Regions from separate parts of the Homo sapiens genome. Here regions 1, 2 and 3 are each linked to region 4. The links are contacts of gene promoters, found by promoter capture Hi-C in human tissues and cell types (Jung and others, 2019). All regions are on one chromosome and are shown on one strand. The core of a region is centred on a gene start or on the middle of the fragment in contact, and the rest is flanking DNA. Distances in the headings are between cores, read along the strand shown.

Region 1 (3,213 bases), core at 578-3,077, 64 kb before region 4:
AAAAATGAGGGCCAGTGTGCATGGCTTGCCTCCCTATCTAAGAAAAGTTAAGTTTGCTTCGAACTTGTTGAGAATCTATCTTGGACTAAATTCAGCAGAGATGGAGAAATTAGACATGGCCCCCTGCCTTCAGGAATCTACTGTTAATGGGGGTGGGGGAAAGAGACAAGTGAACTTATTCATGCTGTGGAGAGAGGAACACAAAGGTTCAGAAAAAATACTGAAAAAGAATCGTTCACTAGTCCTTAAGAGACCAGGCAGCTCTAAAAATAAGATGGTTATTCCTTCCTCCAGGAAGTGGAGCTTAATTGCCCTCTCCTTCAGTGTAGACTGGACTTAATGACTCACTTCTAATGAATAAAGTAAGTAAAGGGAAAAATAATTGTCTTGCAGTGGAAAAACCCAATGGACACTGCCCCAAATAAATGATGAAGACTAACATCAGCAATAAGTCAGGATGATATCAGAGACTCCCTGATATGATATGATACAATATGATAACAAAGGGACTTCACCTCTGGCCAGTGCTTTTCATAACTGTTAAGATAATTTTTAAAGGAAAACCTGAGAGACTGTCACATAACAGAGGAAAGCAAGTAGACATAAGGATTAAATGCAACACAGATTGAACACTGGGACAAAAAAAAGGACATTGGTGGAAACCGAGTAAAATCTGAATAAAGTCTATAGTATAGTTAACAGCAACATACAAATGTTGATTTCTTAGTTTTGACACATGTACCATGATAATGTAAGATGGTAACATTAGGGGAAGCTGGGTAAGTGGTATATAGAAAGTCTCTGTATAATCTGTGCCAATTTTCTATAAATCTAAAACATTTCCAAAATTAAAAGTCTAAGAAAAAAGATATAGTACTACAGAAGGGTTCTGAGAGATTAATTACTCCTGCAAGAAAGGTTTGGAGAATAGAGAAATAAAAAACAAGGCTGGCACAGTGGCTCAGGCCTGTAATCTCAGCACTTTGGGAGGCCGAGGTGGGTGGATTTCTTGAGGTCAGGAGTTTGAGACCAGCCTGGCCAATATGGTAAAACCCCGTCTCTATTAAAAATACAAAAAATTAGCCAAGCGTGGTCGTGGGCACCTGTAATCCCAGCTACTTGGGAGGCTGAGGCAGGAAAATTGCTTGAAGCTGATAGGGGGGTGGTGGTTGCAGTGAGCTGAGATTGTGCTACTACGCTTCAGCCTGGGCAACAGAACGAGACTCCATCTTAAAAAAAAAAAGGAAAGAAAGAAAAGAAAAGAAAAAAGAAAAGAAAAGAAAAATCAGAGACAGTGTAGTCAGAGGGAAACATAGGTCCAGAATGAGAGAAAATGTGCTCAGAGCACTTTGTGTATTTGATATGATGGCAGAGCACGCTGGGCAGTGGGGAATGAGGCTGGGAAATGAAGACAATACTGTAAAGAATCTTCTACGTTAGGCTAAGAATGTTAGCAAGTTAGCAAAGCATTTAGAGCAGAGAAAGCTTGTCATATATGAACAAAATGTCTAGAAGTTCGGTGAGCTGGGAAAGACATGCAGCAAGTTATGTTCAGTACTCAAGTCACAAAGTGGAGATAACAGCACGTTAAATCACAATTAAGCCATCCTAGGGGACCCTGCTTTGGCACGACCGCCATGTTGCATGGTGGATAGGTGAAAAGGGGATTGCTTTATATGTTTTTACTTGAGAGACTGAAGGTGGAAGCCTGCTTGCTCTCCTTGCACCCTCAACGTCTACACTGCTACTCTCTTTAACAGAAGCGCATGACAGAGCATTTAGGAAAAGATATGGGCAACTGGGAGCAACTGAGAAATGAAGTAACAAAAAACTTAAGATACATCCATGATGGCAAATCTAAGCTATAAAGAATTGGTAGGATTAAGGAAAAGAGAATACGGCAATCCCAGCTCAAAAACCTTAATACCTACCCAGTGTCTCCAGAGCAAAATTCAAACGTCTAAGCATGGCGCTCAAGGTCTATTATAACTTTCGAGAAACTTTTTGTATTTCACTTCTTCCTTTCTTATTGCATTTTACCACAAGTATTCCAATACCACATCTTTTAAAAACTGAAACAAAACAAAAAAAATCTGAATTCCCAAATCTCATGCTTATGCTAAGCTGTTTTCTCGGCCTAAGCTGCCTTTACTTGAGTCAAAATCCTACACTACCATTCAATACTTCATGCATATATCACTGCCCCCAGGAAACCTTGCCTGACTACACAAACAATAAAAACTGTTTCTCCCTTCAAGTCTCTACAATTTTCAAATTTCTCTCTATACAAAATGAAAAGGCTTCTCTGCATATATAGGTGGCCAATCATAACCTTTTGGTTAATGAGTTATGAGGTGGAATCTTTGGAGGCACTTCTGGAAAGGTTTTGTTGTAATAAAGGAAAAAGTTCACAGGGAAAGCTCTGTTTTCTGCCCCTTTTCTTCATGTGTGCTTTAGATGCTATATTAGTTCATTAATTTGGATGGGGGGTGCTATAGCCATCTTGGAGCCCCAAAGAGAAGGCCAAGACAACCAGAGAGATTCTAGTCCTGCACACTGACATCTGGAGCTGCAAAGTCACCTATCACCAAAGCTTTTAGTCACGTGAGTTTATTAAATGTCCTCATCGTCTAAGCCCCTGGGATACAGATAAAAATGTCCTAAGTAAACACCGCTTACTATTAATATCTTTTTAATTGAATCAACTGTGAAGATTTCCCAACATTTGAGTCCATTTTGAGGAGGAAAACCTGGACTTCTCAATATACCTTTATCAGAGAGAAACAGTCCCTTGAATCTCACAGGCTGTGTCTTCAGCCCTGGGCTGAGGAGAACACAGGTCAGACCCCAGAAAACAATTACTCTCTCATGAGAATTTCTAATCTGGCCCAAGAAACGCTATTCAAGGCCAAGTCATAATCTTCTTATGACTTCATCTACCTTTAAAATGTCAAGTACTGATTTCCGCTGTACTTTCCCTGAGAGCAATTATTAGTTTAATGAGGAACATGGGCCACCATCTGCATCCCAAAACTTGTGACACTTGAGAGATATTATCTCCACCAACCTGGAACCTCCTACACATTAAACACACAGAGGTCAAACAAAATATTCTCCTCACATTTTACAGTCCAAGAATCAGAGCTGAGCTAATGAGACCAGAAAGAATCCACAATTGGCCAACAGTTGTTGAGCTTCCAATGCACAGGGATT
Region 2 (3,365 bases), core at 499-2,998, 49 kb after region 4:
TTTTGTATTTTTAGTAGAGACAGGGTTTCACCGTGTTAGCCAGGATGGTCTCGATCTCCTGACCTCTTGATCCGCCCACCTCGGCCTCCCAAAGTGCTGGGATTACAGGCGTGAGCCACCCATCCGGCCTAACGAGACTTATTTTTACTCAACTAGATGGCGTTCATTCATTTGCTTACTCAGCTGTGCCAGGAATTAAGTTGGGCACTGGGAATTCCAAAACCAACAAGACATTCTCTGTCATCAGGGAACTCACAGCCTAGTATGAGAGATAAACAAATGAACATGAAATTATAATTCAGTAACAAAGAATGAGTGTTATGGCAGAGGGAATGTGTAAGAGCTTGGCAGGGTATCCAGCAGGGATACCTAACTAAGCCCCACTGGGGAAGGCATCCGAACAGAGGGGACAGCTGAGCTGAGTTCAATGAGCCAGTAGGAATTAGGTTGATATAAGTCAAATCATTTAGTGTTTATGACAACTCTGAAAAATAAGTATTTCCATTTTACAGATGTGAAGCCTAAGTCTCAAAGAGTTATCCAACATCATCCAGAAGTGTGGGGACCCCACAATATCCAAGGGAACCTGGCCCCAAAACTCATGATCTTTCCCCTTTACTGTGCTGCCTCTTCAAGACTGAGAATCTGTCCTTGATGGGATTTGTTCAGGTACCATGTCAGGATGACTGTCTACGTAATGGAAGCCCTGTCGCCAGCTTTTCAGCTTCCTTTCAAATTCCCCCAACTCCTTCTTTTTTCACGCAGCAACTTGTCTCTTTCCATGGAAATGCTGGGGATTTAAAGAAGGCGGGGACTCAGCTTTGCTTCCACTGCGCAGCCCCAGATACAGGCTGCAGGAGTCCCAGCCACCTCCCTCTCATCATGCTTTCTTCCAGGGACAGAGTTATGGCCCCTAGGAGAGGTTTTGTTCCACCGGAACAGTCAGTTACTAATGAGCTCATGCTGCTTTTCCACCCCTGGGTCCCCAGCCATCCTCCAACCCTGATCTCCTAGGTCACCTTCATCTGGCAGCTGGAGACTGGTGGGAGTGTGTGTACATGTGGTGCTTAGCCTAGACGCTTCAGCATGCCCGTAGATTTCCCATGAATTCACTGGGTATGAGCCAGCCCCAAAGGAGAGGGCTTTAGCCTCTTGGACCACTGCCCAAAACAGACAAGCCTAGCCTCAGTACCTCAGGCCCTGTGGTTCCCTCTCTTCTGGGGAAAAGCCAATTTCTGATGGGCCACTAAGCTCTGGTCTTTTTCTGCCAGAATCCCAGGACCCTCTGCTAATCCGGTTCCTATTGCACAGATGATTGCATAATACCACAGGAATTCAAATGGGGAACATCAATATCATAGGAGTGAGCACTTACTGGGAACTTACAAGATACTCTTATATACTTTATTTGGGTGACTGTATGTGCTGCTTGCAATAACCCATAAGGTAGATACAATTATTATCTCTGTTTTATAGTAAGAAAATTAAAGCTTATGGGGGTATGTAATTTGCCCATCTTCCTACAATTGAAAGTGATAGGGACAGGATATTACCCTAGGAGCCTGACTTCAGAGCCTGTGACCCTAATGACCAACATGCAGGGAGAGAAGCTGTTGTTTGAGCACCCACTGTGTGCCAGGCACTGGGCTGAACACTGTGCATGGATTAACTTAGTGACTCCTGCCAACTAGCCTCTGAAGTATGTACTATTATTATCCCTATCTTACAGAAGAGAAAACTGAGATTTAGAGAAGTTACGAGATTTTCTGGGTCACACAGTGAGCAAGTTGCAGATCGGGATTAAAGTCCCAGACAGTTGAACTTCTGAGTACGCTTCCCTTGGCACCATGTTATACCATCTGTGCTGGGCTGAATAGTGTCCCCCCAAAATTGAATAATGTCCCCCCAAAATTCGTGTATACCCTGAACATTAGAATGTGATCTTACTTGGTATTACTTGGTATAGGGTGTTGTAGAAATAATCAAATAAAGATGAGGTCATACTGCATCAGGGTAGACCCTAAATTCAATGACCAGGATTTTTATAAGTGAAAGGAGAGGCGGATTCAGAGAAAAAGACACAGACACACACAGAGAGAAGACAGCCATGTGAAGACACAAGCATAAATTGAAGTGACACAGCTACAAGCCAAGGAATGCCAAAAATTGCTGGTAACCACCAGAAGTAGGAAGAGGCAAAGGGGAATTTTTTTCCAGAGACCTTGGCGGGAGCATGGCCATGCCAACAACTTGATATCAGACTTGTAATCCCTACATCTATGACAGAATAAATTTGTGTTATTTTAAGCCACTAAGTATGTGCTAATTTCTTATGGCAACCCTAGGACATTGATGTGCCATTGGAGTAGCCTGTTACCACTTTGAGAACAGGAAGCTCACTTTGATGCTCCCTATAAGATTTTTTTTTGGCTCCAAGAAATATGATTCCATTAATCTTAATTAAACAAAAAGAGGGCCCTGGAGATCCTGAGATGAACAATTATGGGAAGCCACGGCCATCGATGGGGTCAAGCAGCATGAATCCCTCCATCATGACATTGGGTTCTCTGGAACAGGGGAGAAGGGCCTGAGTTTTCCAGCAAGGTGGCATTGGACGAATCCATTAATCTTTTAGACTCAGTGTTCATATCTATAAAAGGGGGATAATTCTATCCTTGCAATGGCAAAGGCTGAATAAAGTAGTGGATATACCATGCTTCACACATAGCAGAGCAAAATATATGCATTAGACTTCCACCCCCATTCTCAGGGGAGTTCCTTTGAAAGTGGTGGTATTTTTGGAAAGATGTTCCCAATAGGTGAGGGGCCAAGGCTCTTTGGGCTTTAGGGCAGATCCGTTGGGTTCTATGGGGATGTTTGTTCAACAGACCTGTGCTTGTGCTGGAGGGGTGTTAGTGAGGATTCTGCAGATCAATGTAGCCAAACATTTACTGACCCTTCACTATGTCCTGGGCACAGGGCTAGGGGCCATAGTAGGAGAGGAAACCCCCAAAAGCTGTGTGCCAGATTGGGTTTGCTTGCTCTGCGGTGGAGTTTAGCTGTACCTTTCTATATTTAGATTCTATCTTTGTCAAGCAAGATGACTTGTTTGACAGGGCTCTGGTTTTTCATCTCTGAAAAGCTACTCATCCACAGAGCTTGGGATTGAGGGGAGAGGAAAGGGGGAGGAGATCTGGCTTCTCTCCCCAACTCTGAACAGATGGGATCAGAATAGGGCCCTTCTACATCCCTAGCCAAGATGCCTGGGCCTTGGCAGTTGTCCCAGGACATAGACAATGGGGTCTGATGGCAGCTTCTCAGACCTGGCTTTCCCTGGGCAAGAGGCTTTTCCTGAGGCTGGCAAT
Region 3 (3,459 bases), core at 157-2,656, 45 kb before region 4:
CTTAATTTTTGCAATGTGTGTAACAGGTGAGTTTTTCCATTATCATTGAGTTAACACACAGGGGTGAGAGACAGTATCCTAATCTTGTACTGAAAGGTGAAGGTAAACAACTTTCTTTTTTTCTATACTATTCGTCAGAACTCCCTTAGTTTCCAGGGGACCAGAATAACAATTGTCATGTGCTGTTTAGAAGAACTGATCTGAAAAACTCATATATAAAAATAACATACATTTTTAACATGTTGGTTTATAAATATAAAAATCCCATTATCACAAAGCCACAGTTGGCCAAGTCCCCACTGACAAAGGATTACTGTGCCTTTAACACAGTATGAAGAACAATCATTTATAAGCTTAAGGAACGCCCTGAACCTTGATTGCAGGTGTTGGCACAGAATAGTTCTGCTTGAACTTAGGTCAAGTAAAACGGGGTAAATTGATCTAAATCATCATTTACTTAAGGGAAACTAAAGTGTTGCTAATGAAGATAGAAAATCTTACAACAAACACAAGATAATACTTGCCAACAAAAGCACAGGCCAGCCTGGATTAACAAATTCTCTAAGTGTTTTTCCCCATCATGGCTATTTGTTAAACCTGGAAGAGTGCTATTCAAATGCAAAGCTCTTCTACTTGTTGTTAATTATATTATTTTCTTTTTCTAGGCACCAGTGATCCTGATTGCTCTTGGAACCTCTTGGGAAATAAGCCTCCATGTAACATGATTATAATGATTCATTATATTTGGGTAGGTTTTGTAGCTTAAAAGTGCTTTTCCATCTATTTTTAATATTATCATTATTAATAATAATAGCTACCATTTATTGTGTGCTTTTCAGGGGCCAGGCACCATTCAGTGAACAGCAAACACAGTATCTCTACTCTTTACGATAACCCTGCAAGGAGGTTGCAATACCCATTTCATATGGTAGAAAACTGAGGCTCCTACAGGTCAAATAGCCTGCCCAAGATCATATAGACCCTGCCTGCCTGACCCCACAATCCAGGCCATTTTTGCTTTAAGTATGACATATTATATGATCTTAAAGTCATCTGTCTACTATCTATTATCTGTCATTCTTTTAGACTAAACACTCTTTGAAGGCAGAAACTATATCCTGTTCAGAGTCATAATCTCACTACCAAGCACAGTCCCTGGGACACTGTAGGCACTTGATGAATACTTGCTAAAAGAATAAATGAACACATGAGTAAGTGAGTGAAGTCTTATAGGTTCTTCTACTGAGGCAGGAAGATCATTTGGTACTTTTCCTGTTAATAAACTGGGATGCAGAGGCTTTAACAAGAGAATTGATTTCCCTAAGGGCACACACTGTTAAGCATTAGAGGAGGAACCCCATCCACACCCTTCTAACTTCTGGTCTTTTGGGGATTCCACAGGCCCAGGTTGCCTCTTTATTACATTAAAAAAAAATTCATATTTGTCATGGCACGCTAGTTAACAAGCGATGAGCGGGAAGCTACAGGTTGGCCCTAAGTCCAGGTATATTACCCACCTCCCTCCACACTGCCACCCTTCTATTAACCCCACTTGGAAGCCCATGAATGATTATGAATATAAATGTGAAGGCTCCTCCTTTGAGGTAGATGAGGGCGGGGAAAGAGAAGATGGAGAACAGACAATTCAGACAGCCAAATTCAATTTGAGGGAATTTGGTTCAGTGCTTTCCATTAACAACACTCAACGAAAAATATAATTCCCAGGACAAAAGAAGAAAAGGGAAAAAACAACAAAAAACAAAAGCAACTTTTCATCATGCACAGTCAATGGAAAACAAATCAATCACCCTGTTTCTCCCTGGCCCAGCAATGCCTCGGTGAACACCAAAGGCACACGGCCTCTAAGCTGTTGTTGAGTCCTCAGGGTGGTACTGGGAGAAAGAAGTATCTGAAAAAGAAATAGATGGCCAAAAATGTCATCCATGTTCTAGCCTTCTTCAATCTTCCAAAGAACATGTTACAGTTTAGAAAGCACTTTACCTAATTCAGTCATCTGATACTCACAAAACCTTTTTAAAGTAGGTACTATTATAGCTCCTATTTTATTAAATATAAACAAGAAAATGAGTCAGAGTAATTAAGTAATCTGCTTAAGATCAGGCAGCTAATAAGTGTCCAGAAATTAAATTCAGGTTCCTTTAACCCCCACATGTCAAACTCTTTTTTTTCCCCCTAGAGACAGAGTCTTGCTCTGTTGGCCAGGCTGGAGTGCAGTGATGAAATCATAGCTCTCTCAATGCAGCCTCACACTCCTGAGATCAAGTCATCCTCCCACCTCTGCCTCCTAAGTAGCTGGGATACAGGCATGAGCCACAACTCCTGGCCTAAGCTTAAATTCTACATTATCAAATGCCCCCAACAATCCCAAGGGAGGGCAAAAACTAAACCCAGTTGGATGTCCCTACATTATTAAATAACCACAACAATCTGAAGGGAAGGCCAAGACTAAATCCAGTTGGATGTCCCTACCTTATCAAATACCCCCAACAGTCCCAAAGAAGGGCCAAAATTAAACCCAGCTGGATGTCCCTACTTCATCATATACCCAAAACAATCCCAACAGAGGGCCAAGACTAAACCTAGCTGGATGTCCCTACATTATCAAATACCCATAACAATCCTAAGGGAGGGCCAAGAGTAAACCCAGCTGGATGTCCCTACATTATCAAATACCCATAACAATCCCGAGGGAAGGCCAAGACTAAATCCAGTTGGACATTCCGCACACAACTGGGGATTTTTCATTCCAAGTCAAACTCATCCCAACATAAAAACTAAAAGGGTCTATATATTTTTAATATGGTAACATCCCTCCCTGCCTTGCCTCCCTAATCCAAGCAAAACTTGAACAAAAATAGCAAGGCCTCAAATTCTCGTAGTGCTATTCCTGTAAAGTGTCCTTTCACCTGCTGACAGCCAGTTGGGGAGCAATGTTTCCAAGGAATGTTTCCAAGGAAGTTAAAAACACAAACTTAGGAGCTGGATAACGTGGATTTGAATCCCATCTTCCCCCCAATAGTTGTGTGACCTTCAGCAAGGCTCAGAATCTCCTTGTGCCTCAATTTCTTGATCTGTAAAGTCAGAATAGAGTCACATCTCATCTCATAGGGTTGTCGTGAGGATTAATAATACCTGAAGCACTTAGTGTCTGAAAGATGGAAAGCATTTCATAAAATTGTTATTATTGCTAGGTGTCAAAGCACTGATGGATCATCAGTGGATTTAGGATGCTAAATTAAGGAGGCTCCTGTAGAGTGTAATTTTCTCATTCTACAGAGGAAATAACTGAGACTCAGAGAGAAGAAACCCCACCCGCCACCTTTCACACAGGTTCATTCAGAGAGCCAGTGATGATCTCCTACACCCAGGCAGGGCTCTTCGTCTGCCTTGCATACCTGTCTCAAAGTTCTTGCATTTCAGGAGCATTCACCCGAAAGG
Region 4 (3,502 bases), core at 824-3,323:
CCCAGAAGCGCCGCCGCGGGGAGTCCCCGAGGAACCTGCAGGACGCTCCGCTGCCTCTCCTCCCGGAACGCTCGGCACGCTCAGGTTACAGCCTGCGAGGGTGGGTACAGGGGCTCGACCCCCGAGGTTCAAGCTCAGAGCGGGAGAACCACTGGCACTCGCTCAAATCCCCAGAGGTGGTAGCATGAAAGGATGGGGAGTGGGTCACAAAAATACTTTTAACAATATCAGGGCTACCAGGAGAGTGGAGCGTAGTCCGCTGATTATTCTGTGGGTCTTTTCAGGCGAGCAAGGAGTTAACCTCGGAAGTTCAGGGATCGTAAAGGTTCTCACCTGGAAGGCCCCTCACCTGCGGTGCCCGAGGCGGATCCCGCCGAGGAAAAGACCCGGGGAAGAAGAGCTCCGGGTCTGGGCGAGCCCCTGGCGCCTCACGGGCGCTGTTGTTGGCCAGACTCCGACAACCAATAAGGCCCCGCGCCCCCAAGAGGGGAGGGGAGAGCGAGCAAGCAGCGAGCGCGGGAGAGCTAAGGGGAACAACATTTTTGTAAACGCTCTCCGAGATAATTAAGCTATCAATTACCCGGGTGGGAAATCAGCTGCGCTTCCCACAGCTCCACTGAAGGGCCGACTCCTCCGGGATTCGCGCAGGGAACCAGCAGGCAGCAAGCTGCTGGCGAACTTTTCTGATTAACTTTTCCGTTGGAGCCCCCCACCCACACCCATCTCCTCTCCTCTCCTTTTTCTTGCCTTTAAGTAATTATTATTAGCCCAGGGAGTGAGCTGCAAGGACAAACCGGCTCTCTGCCTGGAGGTGGGTAGAAAGGGAAGGCGGTAACGGGGGTAGAGGGAGGCTCTAAACGTGGAGACCTCGGAGTCGGAATCCCAGTTCTCAGCAACCACTCAAGTCTCTCCAGCCCTATTTCACAGATGGCCAGAACTGAGGCTCAGAGAAGGGAAGCGACTTGGCCAAGGTCACTCAGCCCATGCGGAAGCCACGCTTTTGCGGGTTGAGCGATTCCACACGGAACTACTCCATTCCTACTCTCATGAAAATCCATCTGGAAGGGCAGAACCCGCAACTCCGAGGCGAGAGCGAGGGGGCGGTGACGGCGGGTGGCCAGTGACGGTACCCGGAGAAGTGGGAGGCTCGACCTGAAACTGGCTTAGGATCTGGGATGCTCCGGCCCCTAGCCAGAGCACCTTCAGTGAATGGGGTCTCCGGCTTCCGGGATGGATCAAGCAGAGCTCCAGGTCGGGACTGAGAGGCAGAGGGGCAGGTTCCCACTGCGGGAGGGTTGGCACGCCCCCAGGCTCCCGCCGCGCGCTCTCCAGGACCTCCTCCCACATGCTCGTTTCCAACCACCTGTGCGACCTCTGGGCCCCTCCTCTACCCTCTGCCAACCCCACTCGGGGCAGCCCCGGGCAGGGATCCCCAGGGCGCCCCCACCCGTCCGGCATGACGCAGGGGCTCGGGGTTCCTTGGGATCTAGCGCGTGCCGGCGCCCAGCCTTACCCAGGGTGAAGAAGGGCAGCTCGGTGTTGTCCAGGTCGTCCTGCACCGCGATGCGCCCCGGCAGCTCGTTACGCACAAAGAGCAGGAGGCGCGACTCGGCGGCGGTGCCGGCAGAGCCAGGAGAGCCCGGGGACGCGGCGGCGGCGGCGGCTCCGGCCCCGGTCCCAGCCCCGGCCCCGGCGCGGGCGCCGCTCCAGCCGATGTCGCTCTCCCGCAGGGCGGGCAGTGTGGACACCGTGACGGTCTTCAGCCGGCACGGGCTGTCGGGCTCCCGCGAGGCAGCGGCGGTGGCGCCGGCCAGCAGCGGCGGCGGCGGCAGCAGGAGCAGGAACAGCAGCAGCAGCGGCAGCAGTGGCGGCGGCCCCGGGTGGAAGCAGAGCCTCGGCCGCCCCCGGAGCCCCGAGCCGGGGCCGGGGCTGAGCCGGGCGCCGGCGGCGGCCATGGCGGGAGGGGCTGCGGTGCTGCGGGCGGCGGCGGCGGTGGCGGCGGTGGCGAAGGAGGAAGAGGAGGCAGCTGCGGAGACGGCGGACGCCGAAGCGAACCAGGACGCCCGAGCTAAGGAGCGGAGAGAGCCGCTCGCCAGCAGCCCCCAGCTCCGGGCTCCGCCTCCCGATCGGCCCTGGACCGCCCCCCCGCGCCGCCTCCCGGGGCCCAGCCGCCCGTCCCCGATCTCCGGCTCCCCCCGCAGACCCCGAGCGTTTCGGAGGCTCCGCCCGGCCTCGTGCAAGTCCCAGTGGCTCCCTCCCCTTTCCCAAGATCCCCCAATTCCGCCCTCACAGCATTCTTTAGCCACAACACCCCTCCCTAAACTCCCCAAATTCCTAATACTTAGGGCCCCCTCGGGCCCCCCCAAGCCCCCCTGACTCAACCCAGTTCTCCTGGCTTCACCCCACCTTCGGCTCAACCCAGAGGCTGCACCTGGGGGCGCGCCTTGGCCCAGCCTTGCTCAAGGCCCCGCCTTCTTGGGGATAGGGAGCCCCCTGGATAGCCAAGACTTAACTTTGTCTCCCCTCAGGCCCAAGAACAAGTCCTTTCTCCAATCTCCTACCCTTTTCTAGTCTCTGAAATAACTTCCTGTAGCCTCAGAGCCCCCTTCCCACCCACTTGGCCACAACTCCTGCATTCATTCTCCCACTGCCCGCAAACCTTCCTCTCCCCTCCATCCAGGCCTTGTGCTAGCACTAATTGCTAATGGACAGAGGGGCGTCGAACTCCACCGTCTAACGCCGACCCCACAACTGACTGAAGCCGGGCTGTTCTGGCCCCCTAGCTGCCGCCCTGCAAGCCAGCCCACTCACGCTTTTTTATTTTGGATCCCTGCTCCCAGCTTGGAGCAGCTCTACTTGGCTGCTTCTGCTCTCTGTGTGAAATTCCTGAAAAGGGTGTGAGGTAGAGACCTACTATTCTGTCTGTCCTTGGCTCCCGGGTCTTTTAGATCCTCTGCCCAAGTCCCAGAGAACGGGAGTGCTCACCAATTCTTCACCTGCAGTCTTTCTAGACTCAAGTTGAGCTAGGTCCTCAGATTCAGCACCCTTTGGTCTTGGGCTGACTCTGTCTCTGACCCACATACCTGAGACCCTCCAGGGAGCGGACACCTCTGCATGGGTCAAGTGCCGTGCAGCCCCTTCCCCACTCCCCTACTTTTCTTCATCTTCCCTGTCTCTGTTTTCTGTTTCATCTCTCCATTCATTTCCTTCCTTCTCATCTTGACTTTAATCTTACAAATGCTTCTTTCCTATAATTTGTGAGCAACTTCTCATCTCTGTCTAGCTTACCCATCTGCACCTTTTGTGCTGTCTCTATGCATTCACTTTTCTCTTAGCTCTTCCCTCTTCTGTCTCATTCCCCTTTTCTATCTTTAACCCTTCATATAAATTGCTTTTCTCCTCTCTCATCATATATTTTTTAATAACGTTGGATAAAGGCAGAGCACTGAAAATAAGGAAAAAAGCAAAAGCTGTTTTGCGACCTTGGACTTAATGTGTTTAA

Evidence for each region. Contacts are between HindIII fragments. The study calls those that stand out against the background at their distance.
Region 1: a fragment that was not itself captured here is called in contact with the fragment with the promoter of ASTN2 in region 4 in 8 of the 25 tissues and cell types used here (H1 embryonic stem cells, adrenal gland, bladder and 5 more).
Region 2: a fragment that was not itself captured here is called in contact with the fragment with the promoter of ASTN2 in region 4 in 1 of the 25 tissues and cell types used here (adrenal gland).
Region 3: a fragment that was not itself captured here is called in contact with the fragment with the promoter of ASTN2 in region 4 in 9 of the 25 tissues and cell types used here (H1 embryonic stem cells, adrenal gland, aorta and 6 more).

Annotation. Positions count from the first base shown.
Region 1 is chr9:117,349,322-117,352,534 of GRCh38, forward strand. All of the region lies in intron 1 of ASTN2 (astrotactin 2), which reads right to left. Among named protein-coding and RNA genes, the nearest start is that of ASTN2, 64 kb to the right of the region's middle. The HindIII fragment of the contact is 3,423 bases long and covers 117-3,213 here.
Region 2 is chr9:117,461,929-117,465,293 of GRCh38, forward strand. The region is part of intron 1 of LOC105376242 (a long non-coding RNA gene); the gene reads right to left. Among named protein-coding and RNA genes, the nearest start is that of ASTN2, 49 kb to the left of the region's middle. The HindIII fragment of the contact is 4,274 bases long and covers 1-3,365 here.
Region 3 is chr9:117,368,529-117,371,987 of GRCh38, forward strand. All of the region lies in intron 1 of ASTN2 (astrotactin 2), which reads right to left. Among named protein-coding and RNA genes, the nearest start is that of ASTN2, 45 kb to the right of the region's middle. The HindIII fragment of the contact is 5,052 bases long and covers 1-3,459 here.
Region 4 is chr9:117,412,984-117,416,485 of GRCh38, forward strand. It overlaps ASTN2 (astrotactin 2), which reads right to left and starts at 2,074. Exons shown (of 23, transcript NM_001365068.1): 1 at 1,514-2,074. The coding sequence starts at 1,955. The HindIII fragment of the contact is 9,596 bases long and covers 1-3,502 here.